5 separate regions of the Homo sapiens genome follow, and regions 1, 2, 3 and 4 are each linked to region 5. Evidence: promoter capture Hi-C in 16 types of primary human blood cells and fetal thymus (Javierre and others, 2016). All regions are on one chromosome and are shown on one strand. Each heading gives the region's core, a stretch centred on a gene start or on the middle of the fragment in contact. The rest is flanking DNA. Distances are from core to core; before and after follow the strand shown.

Region 1 (2,700 bases), core at 177-2,676, 140 kb after region 5:
AATGTGGCCCCGGGAAGCCAAAAGATTGGACACTCATGCAATATATTCTCAAGGTTTGCTTACAAAAATGTTGCTCTGTCAAACACTCCCATACGCTGAAATAAAACAGCTTGTGATGCATTTTTAAAAAATAAGAAATTGAAAAATTAGGCCCACACTTGAGTTACATCATGAGTTAAATAATCTTTCTTTTCTTTTTTTTTTTTTTTTTTTGAGACAGAGTCTCTGTCTGTCACCCAGGGTATACTGCAGTGACACTATCTGCACTCACTGCAACCTGCAACCTCTGCCTCCCAGGTTCAAGTGATTCTCATGCTTCAGCCTCCCAAGTAGCTGGGACTATGGATGTACACCATCACACCCAGCTAATTTTTTGTTGTTGTTGTATATTTTTTAGAGGCGGAGTTTTGCCATGTTGGTCAGGCTGGTCTCGAACTCTGGCCTCAAGTGATCCACCCACCTTGACCTCCCAAAGTGCTGGTATTACAGGTGTGAGCCACCGCACCCTGCCGAGTTAAATAATCTCTCTTTGTGTGACTTAGGAAACTTAACACCAATTGCCACTGGAAAAAAAAAAGTATTCTGAAGGCCAAACTGTATTTATATGCATTGTGTAGATGATTCTGTTAATATGCATATCCTGATATAAGTCTGATTTGTGAATTTATAAATGCATGTACTTATAACTTGCATATCTGTGGTATCAAGAGTTGTGGAACTTTGTCTCTATCCCTTGCTTATATTCCCAGGAATATATAATCCCTTTGCTTTCTAGTCAGTTAAGCAAATTTCCCTAACCTGAACTAATTCAACCTAATTTTCTCTTGTGGGAGTAACTGGCCTATCTTCTACAGATTTTTTTTTCTTTTCTTTTCTTTTAATAATAGAGACGAGGTCTCACTATGTTGCCCAGACTGGTCTTGAACTCCTGGGCTCAAGCGATCCTCTAGCTCCAGCCTCCCAAAGTGCTGGTATTATAGGCCTGAGCCACTGCACCTGGCCCAGATTTTTCAATGATAAGAAAAAAGTCTCTTTCTTTATTTGTGCTTTTTCACAATGATCCTGTTCCACTTTGGAAGCAGTTCTCCAATATATACATCAGTATTTACGGTAGCTGCTGCCACACAACCACCAAAACAGCTTTCTAAGAAACTACACTGCTTTACTGGTTCTATCTATTTCCTCAAGTTCTAAATGGTAGGTTGTAGTGCTCCAAGATTCAGTCATGTGATCTCTTTTTTATCTACTTCTCTATTTATCTAGGTGATCTCATTTCACCCCAAGACTTGAAAGATCTCAAATGTAGAACTCCAACCTTGACCTCTACCCTGAACACTTCATACTCATATCTAGCTGCCTATTTGATATCCCTACTTGGACATAAACTTAAAATATATAAAATAGAACTCCTGATTCCCTACCCCCACATACAAACATACACACACACGCATATACACAAAACATGTGCCTCCCACAGTATACCTCAACTGAATAAAAGGTAACTCTGTTCACCCAGTGTGTCCAATTTCTCAGGCTGAAAACTGGGAGTTATCATTGGCTTTTCTCTTTCTCTCTTATCCAGTCTATATCCAGGATCCAACCACATTTTGCCCTTACCTCCATCATCGTCCTGATCCAGGCCACCATCATCTCTCACCTGGATTATTACAACAGCTGTCTAACTGGCCTCCCTGCCTCCACCATGCCTCTCACCACAAAGCAGTCTGAGTAAGTTCTTAAAATATTCAGTTGGATCAGGCCAGTTCTTTGCTCATAATACTATAATGGCTTCCTATTTCACACAGGATAAAACCCAAAGTCCTAGCCATAATTTACAAGACCATACATCATCTGTCTCTCTTTGATCCTGATGCTCTTGCCTTATCTCTTACCTCATCTCCCCGAATCCCTTCCACTCTCACTTTGATCCAAGTACACTGGCATAACCTTAAACATGGCAAGTAGCTTCCCCAAGACCTTTGCTCTTGCTGTTCTCTGCCTGGGCTGTTCTTCCGTGAGATGACCTCTGCTTCGTTCAAATTTCTGCCCAAATGTCACCTTATCAGGAATATATCTAACCATCTTATTTTAAAAAAGCAAGTCCGCTGCCCACTCCTCCTTTATTCCCTTTCTCCAGTTTCATTTTTCTGCATATCCCTTGCCACCTGTCATATACATTTTTGTATTCATCAACTGTCTTTCCATACTTCTCAATACACTCTAAGAAAACAGGGACTTGACGTGTTTTATTTTACCCTATCCACAGCAACTAGAATAGAGATTGGCACAAGTATTTTAAAGCATTCGTTGAATAAATAAATGAATGGATTTTAGAGACCTCAAAACATTATGTTCCCAATGGGCTGGCCACATGGTTGCTGGCTATGCCAGAGGACATTCCGCTGGAATTGCCTTGCTTCAGCCAAAAGAACAAATGATGTCTGTACATCATGTTGAGTATTGAAAATACATCTGGAAACATTATCCTACCCTGGTACCCAACGCTGGAGTGCCTCACCTGGACTACTACATGTAGCGTTAGCTCTTATATCTCAAGAAATATCCAAATAAAAGCAAGTATAAAGATCCAGAAAATGGAGAGGACTGCCAGAATAAAGAGCAGGACATTTCAGGCTGGAGTGACAGAAGATGAAGAATATGATCAAACTCTAGAAAATCAAAATGCTGTGATCAAGCCCA
Region 2 (2,700 bases), core at 161-2,660, 170 kb after region 5:
TTGTTCTGTATGTAACCCATGTTTTCCTACTTTTTGTCCTTAATCACTCTGTGAATATTTTCCGTAAATAAATCTGATTCTCATCCACATAGCACCTGCTATTCTCTCTTCTTCTGTGGCCTCCATCCTTTGGTTGCCACCATTTCCAGCAGGTGCTGACATCTCCTACCACAGCTGATGCCATGGAGCCCTCAGAGTGGCAAGGTGTCTCGGTATTGTGTTGCATAGTTGGAAAGAAGTTCTCGCTTCCCTTCTTTTTTCTTGGCTTACTCTAGCTTAGGGCAGGAGGTCCAAGGCAGATGTCCTTGGACCCCAGGGATGGACAACGCTGTCAGTGCAAGTTTTACTCACAACCTTCCCATGCTCCCTCTACAGGATGCAGATGTCCCTCCCTGAGCCAGAGACAACCTGAGTGACAGCCCCAAACCCCTTCCCTCCAATGATCGAAGCTTTGTTTTGGGATCCAGCTGCTTCTGCCTAGCTGCCTTGCCCCTCTGGACAAGTCCTCACCCAAGAAGCCCTGGGACTATCACATAGAGACAGCCTGGTATGCCATTTCCCAGATATGGCCAAACTACTATGGACTTCAGAGACACACCTGGCTTGAGATTATAGGATTCTTGATCTTATTCCTACTTGCTTCAGTTATTGATGAAAATAGGCTGAGCCTCATAACAAATGTTGGAGAATGCTTATGTTCACTTTTATTTGGTTAAGAATGAATGAATAAATGGATGAATGAAAGGATACGAGTCCTATTAAAGCTGTAAACTTTCCCCAAGTGAATGTTTGGTAGCAGTGTTCTATCTCTGCGACCACTATGCCCTGTTCACTTTTACGGTTTTAAATATTTTATTCATTTACCTCAAGAATAGTAACAGCTAACATTGATATCACATCTTACAAAGCCTTTTCCATGTATGTTCCTTTATTTCATTTTTAACCTGTGAAACAGGTATTACCATGATCTCCATTTTCTACAGGAGAAAATTAAGCAGACTTCCCCACTTCCCCATTCTCATCCTTTGCTTTTGCTACTAAATTTTACTAATCTTTCAGCCACACCTAAGACATCATTTTCTCCATGAAGACTTACCTAACTATTGGCCTGGAGAAGCAGGTTCTGTTCCCTGCTCCAGTACAGCCAGAGTGTCAGTTAATCAGAGGGGACCTGGCACAGTCAGGGCCTCCCAGACCAATTACCTTAAGATTTGAGCTATCCTATTAATTGTCCCCAATGCTGTGTATGAGTAATAACATTATTATAACCACACATTTTTTCCATGTGTGCCAGAATGTGGAAAAGGCTAAGTAACACCACCGTGAAGGAATGGCTAAGAGCATGGCTTTTAGAGGCACATATTAGCTATATGATCTTCAACAGCTATGAACCTATCTGGGTGTTAGTTTCCTCATCTGGAAAATAAAAATAACAATAGCAAACACTTACACAGCATTTACTACCATGTAGGTTATCTCTTTTACTGTTCACAATAGCATAAGGTAGGAACTATCATTCTTCCCATGATACAGAGAGGAAATAGGCACAACAGTGGTCATGTTTGAACTTGACGTGAATGATATAAGACCTGTAATTAAAGCCCAAGCCCATGTTTGCAACTACTATATTACATGAACAAACCTTCCTCATACGGTTGTTATAAGAGCTAAATTTGATAATCCATGTGTAAGTGATGCTCTTGTCCCAGAATTGTAACCAAAGACCAAAACCACCAGGTACCCCTTCCATGGCCATGCAGGGTTTACTGAGAGGTATCAATTCAGAAAACTCTCCTTACCTCCCACTATCATCCTCCACCACCTCCACTGCCCCAGTCAACATAAAGGCACTGGCATGCCTGCCTCTACATAACCAGAGCAGAGGAAATAGCTTTGAGGAGACAGATGTTGTATTTGTACTGCTGAGGGAGGGGCTATCAGTTCCACTGTCTCCTCTCCTAGTAAGATGGAGTCTGCACTTGTCCATGGTCTCATGAATTGGCTGGCCACAGAAGGTGGCTGGAAATGGGAGCTATATCTCACCATAACTGGCATTGCACAGTGGCAAAGAGGCACTTGTATCAAAGTATTGCAGCATGATACCACTGTGTGGATGAGGGAGGTCGGCGGCAGAGGATGACTAAATTTTACAAGGGATCAGCAGGGCTTAAAGAAACTGCATCGGCATGGGCCTCTCTGTGATAGGATATGTCAAAGCCCCCTCCTGTCCTCACTTATGTCATATGGGAACGATGTTGCTTTCCTTAAGGGATTGTCATGAAAATTAAATGAGATAATGTGCATGAGATTCCGCAAAATGGTCCCACGATTAATGTTAGCTCCTTCACCACACTCTTGCTACCCAGTGTTTAAAGCTTGGGTAAATACTTTGAGTATGAGAAAAGATGGGTAGCTTTTCATAATGTCAGATTCAACCTAAAAAGAAAAATCTCTGTTTGCAGACTTCTATCTCCCTGGATTACTAAGTAGACCTGAAATTTATTAACCTTTTTACTCATTTGTGAGCACCAGCGTAAGAGGACTTTTTTGAATAATCAAGAAACCTCATTCCGGTGGGCAAATAAAAGGAGGCCAGGTGTTTGGGATTAAAAATGCATTATCCCCACCACTGACTTTCTGGGGATGGTGTCAAGTATTTGCTCTCTCATAATATGTACTATTTCTAGAGTAGAAAAGGAG
Region 3 (2,700 bases), core at 22-2,521, 190 kb after region 5:
CTGAGTTTGTCAGCCTGTTTCAATTTTATCTAAGAAATTAAATCTCGGCTTTAGTTTTTATTAGCACGTTTACTGGTTTGCTGTGCTTTAGAAAACATTTTTAAAGGAAACATGTAAATTATAATGAAGATAAGCCAGAAATGAAAAGCCTCAGATAAAATGGGAATGATTGTTAATGAATGACCATTAACAAAGTTTTCAGGAAATTAGCACAGATGACGTGGCAATCGCTTGTGAAGGAGGCCTTCATAGAACTGCCTTGCTTTTAGTGTGCTAAGAAATTCTGACTCTCATACACTGTTAACAGGAGTATAAAATATCACAGTGTATTGATTTGCCCCTATAGCTACTGAATGAATCATTTTTTAATAAACTGATATGATCTAAAAGATGTTATATATGAGAATTTCTACTAACTGAATGTGTGACCTTACTTAAATCATTTAATCATTTTGACCGATAGTGTCTTCATCTGCACAACAGGGATAAAATTACACTGTCCACTTTGCCTGGGTTGTTGTGAGGATTCTATGAGGAAAAAACATGTGAAAGCCATTATAAACTCTGATGAAATATACAAATATGCACTTGTGTTTTAAACTGCACAGCTCTCCATATGCTTATGCAGTTATGATTTTAGTATCTCTAATTATTTTCAAGGCTGATAGATATGCTACCCGTTAGTGAGTAATGTCCCTTGTCTTCATAGGGACCATTTCGATATCCTCACTTCCTGTGGGCATTGTTGAATGATAATCACTGTACATCACAGCTCTGTAAGGAACAGGCCTATTTCATTCACTGGCACCGCAGTCGGATCCTTTTATTCCTCTAGTACAGACTATACCCTCAGGTACAGTAAAAGACATATATTCAGTTAAAACCATTGCACAGTCTTAAGTGTACAGATAAAGTCCATTCTAACTATGCAAAATAAACTGTTTCTTAAACAAGTTTTCATTAATTTTTACCATAGTCTATCATTTCTATCAAAACTTTGCTTTTAAAATTGGTTCTGGCAAAATTCCCAAATATGCACCCTTCCAAATGTTTACTTATTTGGCATTAAAACTCCTAAAAATGTCCCTAAGTAATTAGAGAAAATGCAAAAGAAATTATCTAAAATGAGGTATTAAAATTATTCCAGGTAATATGGTGACTTGAACATGCATTTCCAGCTGCCCCTCCCATAAGCTCATTGAAATGACCAAGGGAATAAAAATACATATAGATGAACAAACCTACACTGGCAATGGAAACTAGGGCAAAGTGATAAGCACATAGTAGCAACATCAAAGACAGACACTCTGCGGGACATGAAGCAGACTAATCTGAGTTGAAGAAAGGACCCTATGTCCAAAGGCAACATAAGCACAGGAGACCTCAGAGAATCTCAATAATAATCCCTTACCTGTAGGGACAAAGACTTGGAGGTGAGACTTGCAGTCAGGGGCATTCTAGAAGGCAACCACAGAGACTCCAAGAAAAGCATGTGGCACCCAAGAGTATACACAGGGTTTTGCTCTTGACACAGATGTCTGTATTTCTTAACCTAAATTTTTTAACCCAGACACAATAATCACTGCTCTGCTTTGGACATCTTTTACAGCAGAATATATAGATCTACCCCCATTATTTCTAATGTTTAATTTGAATTTTAAACGTTATATATTTGTATAGCTGTACCACATCTGTGTGCATATTTCTAATGTTTAAGTTGCTTTTTTACTGTAGAGCTGTACCACATCTATGTGTATATCACTAGGATATAGTTAACTAGATTCCAAAAAGTATATTCCTCATCTAAAGCACGTGAATTTGTAATTCTGATTAATACTGCCAAATTGCCCACCTAAACTGTCATAGCAATTTATTTCCTACCAACAAAGTAGAAGACACATTCCCTGCTTCTTCTTATAATTTTTATTTAAATTGTATCTATTTATTAGAATTTCTTTAAAACTTTTCTACCAACCTGAGGGCAACAGTGACAGTTCATGTTGTTTTAATTTGCATTACTTTGGTAACTAGTGAAGTTTAGCATCTTCTCACACATTTCTAGGCCACTGTATTTCTTCTTCTATGAATTTTCTACTTTCCTCTTTTTGCCTATTTTTCAGTTGTGTTACTCTATTTTTTTTTTTTTCCCGAGACGGAGTCTTGCTCTGTTGCCCAGGCTGGAGTGCAGTGGCGCAATCTTGGCTCACTGCAGCCTCTGCCTCCCTGGTTCAAGCAATTCTCCTGCCTCAGCCTCCCAAGTAGCTGGGATTACAGACACACACCATGCCTGGCTAATTTTTGTATTTTTAGTAGAGACGGGATTTCCCCATGTTGGCCATGCTGATCTCAAACTTCTGACCTCATGATTCACCCACCTCGCCCTCCCAAAGTGCTGGGATTACAGGCGTGAGCCACTGCACCCAGCCTGGGTGCCTCTATTTTTTAAATGCTTTATATAAACAGGAGAGTAGGTAGGAGAACAAAATGTTGGAGCAAGTCGATCTAGATTTAAATCCCATCTCTGTCACTTAAGTCAACAAGTGAGTTTGGAGGAATTAGTTACCCTCTCTGTGCTTCCATTTCCTCACCTAGGAAAATAACAATAGTAGCTACCTCATAATGTTGTAGGATATTTTTTATTGATACATAATATTCGTACATATTTCTAGGGTTCATGTGATATTTTGTCACATGCATAGA
Region 4 (2,700 bases), core at 11-2,510, 230 kb after region 5:
TTTTGTCTTTAATAATATATTTATTATGTTCATAGATATATGTTTAATAATATATAATAACCTATATTATATAGGTAATATATAGGTAATATATTATATAGGTAATATATTATATATATGTTATATAATATATAATAACCTATATTATTTATAATAATATAAAATAACCTATATTTTTTAGCTCCTGACAGTTTACAAGCACTATCACAGCCCAGTTCTCACCTGATCCTCCTCATGGTCCCATGAGAGAAGCAGAATGGATATTGTTTTTCTTCATCTTACCTAAAGAAATTGAGGGTCCAAGTGATGAAGGGATTTGCTCAAGGTCATACTGAGAGAGAAAGAGGCAGAGTTCTAGAGCTGAGGATACAACAGGGGGCACCAATGCCTCTGCCGTCAGGGAGCTTTCATTTTAACTACAATACATTTATCAAAAATAAATTAATTATTACATAATAAATCAATGATTTATAATGCCAGGGAGTTATAACTGCTATAGAAAATAACAAAGCCGGATAAGGGGATAAAGAGAAAGTGACTGTATTGAAGTGAATGGGGAGAGTCATTTAGATAGGACATTCAGAGAAAACCTCTTTTGAGCAGTTGAGGAAGTGAGTCATGTGAATATCCATAGACAGGTCATAGCAAGTAGAAGGACCAGCAAGGACAAAGGCCCTGAGGTAGGTGTGTTCTTGGCTTAAAAAATAGCATGTTGAACAGGGTGCCATGACTCATGACTATATTCCCAGCACTTTGGTAGGCTGAGGCAGGAGGATCACTTGACCCCAGGAGTTCAAGACCAGCCTGGGCAACATAGTGAGGCTTTGACTCTACAAAAAAATAAAAATAGCAAATAGAAAAAATTAGCATGCATGGTAATGGGAGGCTGAGATGGGAGGATCATTTGAGCCCATAAGTTCGAGGCTGCAGTGTGCCATGCTCACATCACTGCACTCCAGCCTGGACGGCAGAGCAAGACTCCAACTCAAATAGAAACAAACAAACAAACAAAAGAACAGTATGTCCATTGAGCATTAATTTTACTGATTATGATTAAGTGTTATTTGAAGGAAGCATTCTGTAGTCCAATAACTTTCAGAGCCTCTGGATAAAGCACAGCTTCCAAGCGCGAATAGTCTTAATATATGAATGCACTCTGTGATCTTCTTGAAGGAGCTATAGCGTGCAGCATTGTGCAGTGTTATTCAAGTATGAAAACCTTTTCTCAAGGAGCACCTCAGGGGATTTGTACTGCAAGGAGCACTCTGGAAAATGCTGCACCACACCCTGCTTCTACTGGAAAGAGGAAGTTGGGCTAGGAACTAGAACTTCAGGCACTGCGTAAAGCCAATGGAAGCCACCCTCGGAGACACAAATTGCATCAGGCGGTGGCCAACTCCACTTATCCACAGTGTGAATGTTCAGCCACTCCTGTTTTTTGTCACTATCTGAAACTACTCGTGGCCCCTATTTCCTGTCTGGATCACTGGTGTTTTCCATGACTTAACCCTGGTGAGCTGTTTCCAAGCTCTGCTGACCTTCAGTAGTGTTCTCATTTGGGGAAATGGAAGCAGAAACAGGCACGTATGGCAATCTGCTCAGAGGATGCTCCCCTGCTGACTGGGGGTGGGAACCATAGCGAGGGAAGAGGGGATTTCCATTGCCCTGAATAAAGTGTGGAGCTGGTGGCCTCCCCTGCAGCCTTGAGCAGGAATTCAGCTCAGGCTGTGTCACATGAGCACTGAGCTCCAGGGCCATGGACAAGTCTAGAGGCGATATAGCTGCAGACAGGTGGAGGACACTGCAAGAGGAAGGCTCCCATTTAGCAGGAAAACTGCCAGCTGGGAAGAATGCTGGTGGCTGCCTGAGTTGGGAAGAATTCCCAAGCCCTCTGCAAGCTCAGAAGCCAGGAAATGAATGGGAAGCAGCTGGAGTGGGCCAAGCAAGTCAAGGCAAATGGCCCAGAAGTGAGCAGAAGGGGGCCAGGCCCACCCCCAGGAAACCCAGCAGAGGTCAACTAGGCCTGTGGCACTGGAGGAGGCTAGGAGAGGTGAGCAGCCGGTCTCAAGATTATCACTCTGTGGGCCTGGACAGAATTTTATCAGAAGAGTGCCAAAAGGAGTCATCTGTTGGCTTTAAAAAAAATTAACTGTATAAATAGAGGTTAATTCCAGATGTTGCTTAATCCTAAAATACATAACATTTAAGTGATGGAGTGTAAATACTAAATGAATTATTTCTTTTAGGACTTTCAACGGAATCCTACAAAAGATCTGGCTAAGAGCTTGGCCAAAGACTAACAAATACATCCTGGATAAAATTAAATTTTTGTCCTTGTGATGCCTCATCAGAGGGGTTAAAAACATCAGTTCGGGTCTATGATCTATGCACAATTGAGAACATCTACTGAAAGCAATAAATGCCTAATGCCCCAGGCTAGAATTGGTGAGTATTTTCTCTTCATGTGATGCAATAGATACAATTAACAAAACAAGGCCGGGTGCAGTGGCTCATGCCAGTAATCCCAGCACTTTGGGAGGCTGAGGCAGGAGGATCGCTCGAGCTCAGGAGTTGGAGACAAGCCTGGGCAACATGGCAAAAACCCATCTCCACAAAACATTCAAAAAATTAGCTAGACATAGTGGCGCGTGCCTGTAGTCCCAGCTACTCGGGAGGCTGAGGTGGGAGAATCACTTGAAC
Region 5 (2,700 bases), core at 163-2,662:
CTTGATTAATAAATGAATAAATCAACCAGGCCAACTGAACTTTTAATATATCATTTGGTAAACTTAGCCCAAGGTTTACTTAGCCCAAGTTATAACGGCTTGGCCCAAGTTATAAACTTAGCCCAGGTTAGAATGGCTATTAGCCTGCTCAACTTACCTAATTGATCTGATCTAAGTCCAGCCCATGGGTACTTTCGCCCCACGGAGGAATTACAAGACTCGGACAAATAAGACTTTTTCCACAGGAAGTTCCTCTGGTATTCACTCAGCCCCTGTAATGCAAAGTACACTTTTGAGTACAGTCCAATTAATGAATGATGTTTTAAAGCAGACATCGGTGAAAAATAATTTCTGAACCTCCCAAAAGAGACTTAAGACTGAAAATTAAACACAGACGAGCTCCTTAATAAGAGCTAATATTCACCCAGCCCTGTGCTAAGCAGTTCACACGTGTTATATCCTTTAATCCACAACACCACTTGAGGCAGATGCTACCAGGAATTCCAGGCTCAGAGGTTACCCTTTCACTGATTATCTGATTCCAAAGCATGAGTTCTTGTCGGATAACTAATGACAATCTAAATTCTCATCATTCTAGATTTATCGCAGGTTTTCACCGAGTACACAATATTATGTACCATGCCTAGGACCTTTTGCTATTTGATAAAGTCAACAAAAGGCAAACTCCCCTTCCATTCTGAATACACGCCTTTAAGATAAATGAGTCAGGAGATGTGGGACGCTGTGGCCACCTGTGAAGTTGCAGGGTGCTAGTCCCTGACAGCTACCAGCTACCTGGAACTTTTAACATACGCTAAGAATGCACAACGATGAAAAACGTGTATTTCTTTATACGCTGTCTTTACTAAGAACCCATTTCTCAAGCCTTTAAAAGCCACATACACTAAAGTTTTAAAGGTAATGGGGGTTAAATGCTAAGCTAAATGGGCCACAGGTGTCCCAATCTGAAGTCGCCTTTAGTTCTCTTCGCAAAGGGACCTCCTCCCATCTCCACTCCTCTTGAGTCCCCCTAAGTAAATGTGTCTCGCACCATCTGACTCTTCGACACACTGCAGCTTGCAAATGTGAGTGAGCGGAGAGGGAACTAGGTTAAGAGGCGGCGGGCAGATTCTGGGGCCCCTCGAGCAGGCCCTGGGGCTGGCAGCTTCCGCCGGGCAGAGGGCTGCAGCGCAGAAAAGCAGCGTGACCTCGGCGCTCCACACCTCCCCGGCCATGGCTCCCCCCAGCCACATTCCGGCCCGGGGACCCCAGCCTCACCTTGAAGCGCACCGGCATGTCGCCCGGCGCCGGAGCCCCCGCTACTCCGACAGTTAACTGGAGAAAAAGCTCCGAGGGGGCGGGGCGATAACAGTGTTCCCTAGCAAAGCCTCGGCCCGGCGTCCCCGACTACGCGCCGGCGCACTCCGCGCTTCCCGCCTAGAGGCCTGTCGGTCTGTTTTTCCCCGCCCTTTTTGGAGCCTAGGGACCAATAGAGACTCGCAGAGTGCCTTACCTCCATTAGGATTTGACCAATGAGTGGCCGAAAGGGAGCCGCCTACCTCCCTTGCCAAATCCCTGGGGCTGATAGAGATGGCGGGCGGAAGGCCGGCCAATAAGGCTCCCGGAACCGGGCTGGGCGGGACCCCGGGGGTGCCTTCCTGGGTTGGGTGGACCGGTCCCTGGTTCGCCGGGTCCTGCGCAGCAATGCGTCTGCTTGCTGGTGGAATTCGCCAGCCGCCAGCCTCGCTGGCCCAGGTGCTTGACAGCATCAAAGGTCAAAGTGTGTTCTTCATGCTAACATCTATGAGAAAACCGAACGCTTCTTTTTCTGAAAGTGCTCAGATTTATTCTGCTGAATATCGGTTCGTACAAACGACAGCCGCATTACAGTTTATTGTCACATCAAAAGGGAAAGGCCAAAAAAATATATAACTTAGGCAAGATTTTTGAAACTTTATTGAAACTCGAAAGACAAACTGCTGTCTCTTCCTCCAGTGATGTTCTTCCTCCTTCAATCTCTACCTTCCCCAAAATGATGTACATACAGCCCTTAGATGAGAAAACGTTTATTGAAGATGGTTGTCTCAACTTCCAAACCTTCAGCCTTGTCTCTCCGCTCAACCTTTTTTTAAAAATAAAACTTCATCTGATTTTAATCGACTATTGCCATCATCGTCGATAAATGTTTCTTGACAGAATACTGCTGATTCTGAGAATTGGGAAAGAAAGAAATTGTCCAGATAGTTCTCTGATATACTTGGGAAGGACATACATCTTTATTTATTTATTTATTCATTATTTATTCAATAATGGTGTAATGTGACATGTGCTAAATTTCTAAATGAAAGGTGTCAATAATAAGGGCTACAGGATCTGGGAGCAGGGAGTCATTTCGGACGGCAGAAGATGCGTCAGGAGGAAATATTCAGACTGAAAGGACTGCAATAAGTAAAAAGTGGGACGATGAAAGGGCAGATGTCTGAATGGAATGCTGCCAGGCTTCTTCCAGGAACAACAAATGAGTGCCTTTTACATTTGTCATGTGTTGACTGAATAAAAGTATACCACTCTTAAACTTTCAAATATCAACACCAATCCTTGATGCTTCCCTTTAAGCATTTTCCGCAAAAGCTGTCTTCCTGAATCCTGATTGATGTCTTTGTTCTTCATCATCATCGAGATACTTAAAAATCATTTGAA

What was found. Contacts are between HindIII fragments. The CHiCAGO score rates a contact against its expected background, and 5 or more counts as called.
Region 1: a fragment that was not itself captured here is called in contact with the fragment with the promoter of MDM1 in region 5 in 1 of 17 cell types (megakaryocytes); the score reaches 5.8 in megakaryocytes.
Region 2: a fragment that was not itself captured here is called in contact with the fragment with the promoter of MDM1 in region 5 in 2 of 17 cell types (megakaryocytes and monocytes); the score reaches 11.9 in megakaryocytes.
Region 3: a fragment that was not itself captured here is called in contact with the fragment with the promoter of MDM1 in region 5 in 1 of 17 cell types (megakaryocytes); the score reaches 7.0 in megakaryocytes.
Region 4: a fragment that was not itself captured here is called in contact with the fragment with the promoter of MDM1 in region 5 in 5 of 17 cell types (megakaryocytes, monocytes, M2 macrophages and 2 more); the score reaches 11.1 in megakaryocytes.

The regions. Positions count from the first base shown.
Region 1 is chr12:68,475,741-68,478,440 of GRCh38, forward strand. No RefSeq gene overlaps it. Among named protein-coding and RNA genes, the nearest start is that of LINC02384, 26 kb to the left of the region's middle. The HindIII fragment of the contact is 3,217 bases long and covers 1-2,700 here.
Region 2 is chr12:68,498,535-68,501,234 of GRCh38, forward strand. No RefSeq gene overlaps it. Among named protein-coding and RNA genes, the nearest start is that of LINC02384, 48 kb to the left of the region's middle. The HindIII fragment of the contact is 1,926 bases long and covers 448-2,373 here.
Region 3 is chr12:68,521,520-68,524,219 of GRCh38, forward strand. No RefSeq gene overlaps it. Among named protein-coding and RNA genes, the nearest start is that of LINC02384, 71 kb to the left of the region's middle. The HindIII fragment of the contact is 4,435 bases long and covers 1-2,700 here.
Region 4 is chr12:68,558,782-68,561,481 of GRCh38, forward strand. No RefSeq gene overlaps it. Among named protein-coding and RNA genes, the nearest start is that of RAP1B, 51 kb to the right of the region's middle. The HindIII fragment of the contact is 6,611 bases long and covers 1-2,700 here.
Region 5 is chr12:68,330,950-68,333,649 of GRCh38, forward strand. It overlaps MDM1 (Mdm1 nuclear protein), which reads right to left and starts at 1,413. Exons shown (of 15, transcript NM_001354969.2): 1 at 1,279-1,413; 2 at 158-272. The coding sequence starts at 1,296. LOC105369819 (a long non-coding RNA gene) reads left to right here and starts at 1,682. Exons shown (of 3, transcript XR_945057.3): 1 at 1,682-2,700. RefSeq lists an enhancer at 964-1,053 and a silencer at 1,354-1,613. The HindIII fragment of the contact is 10,890 bases long and covers 1-2,700 here.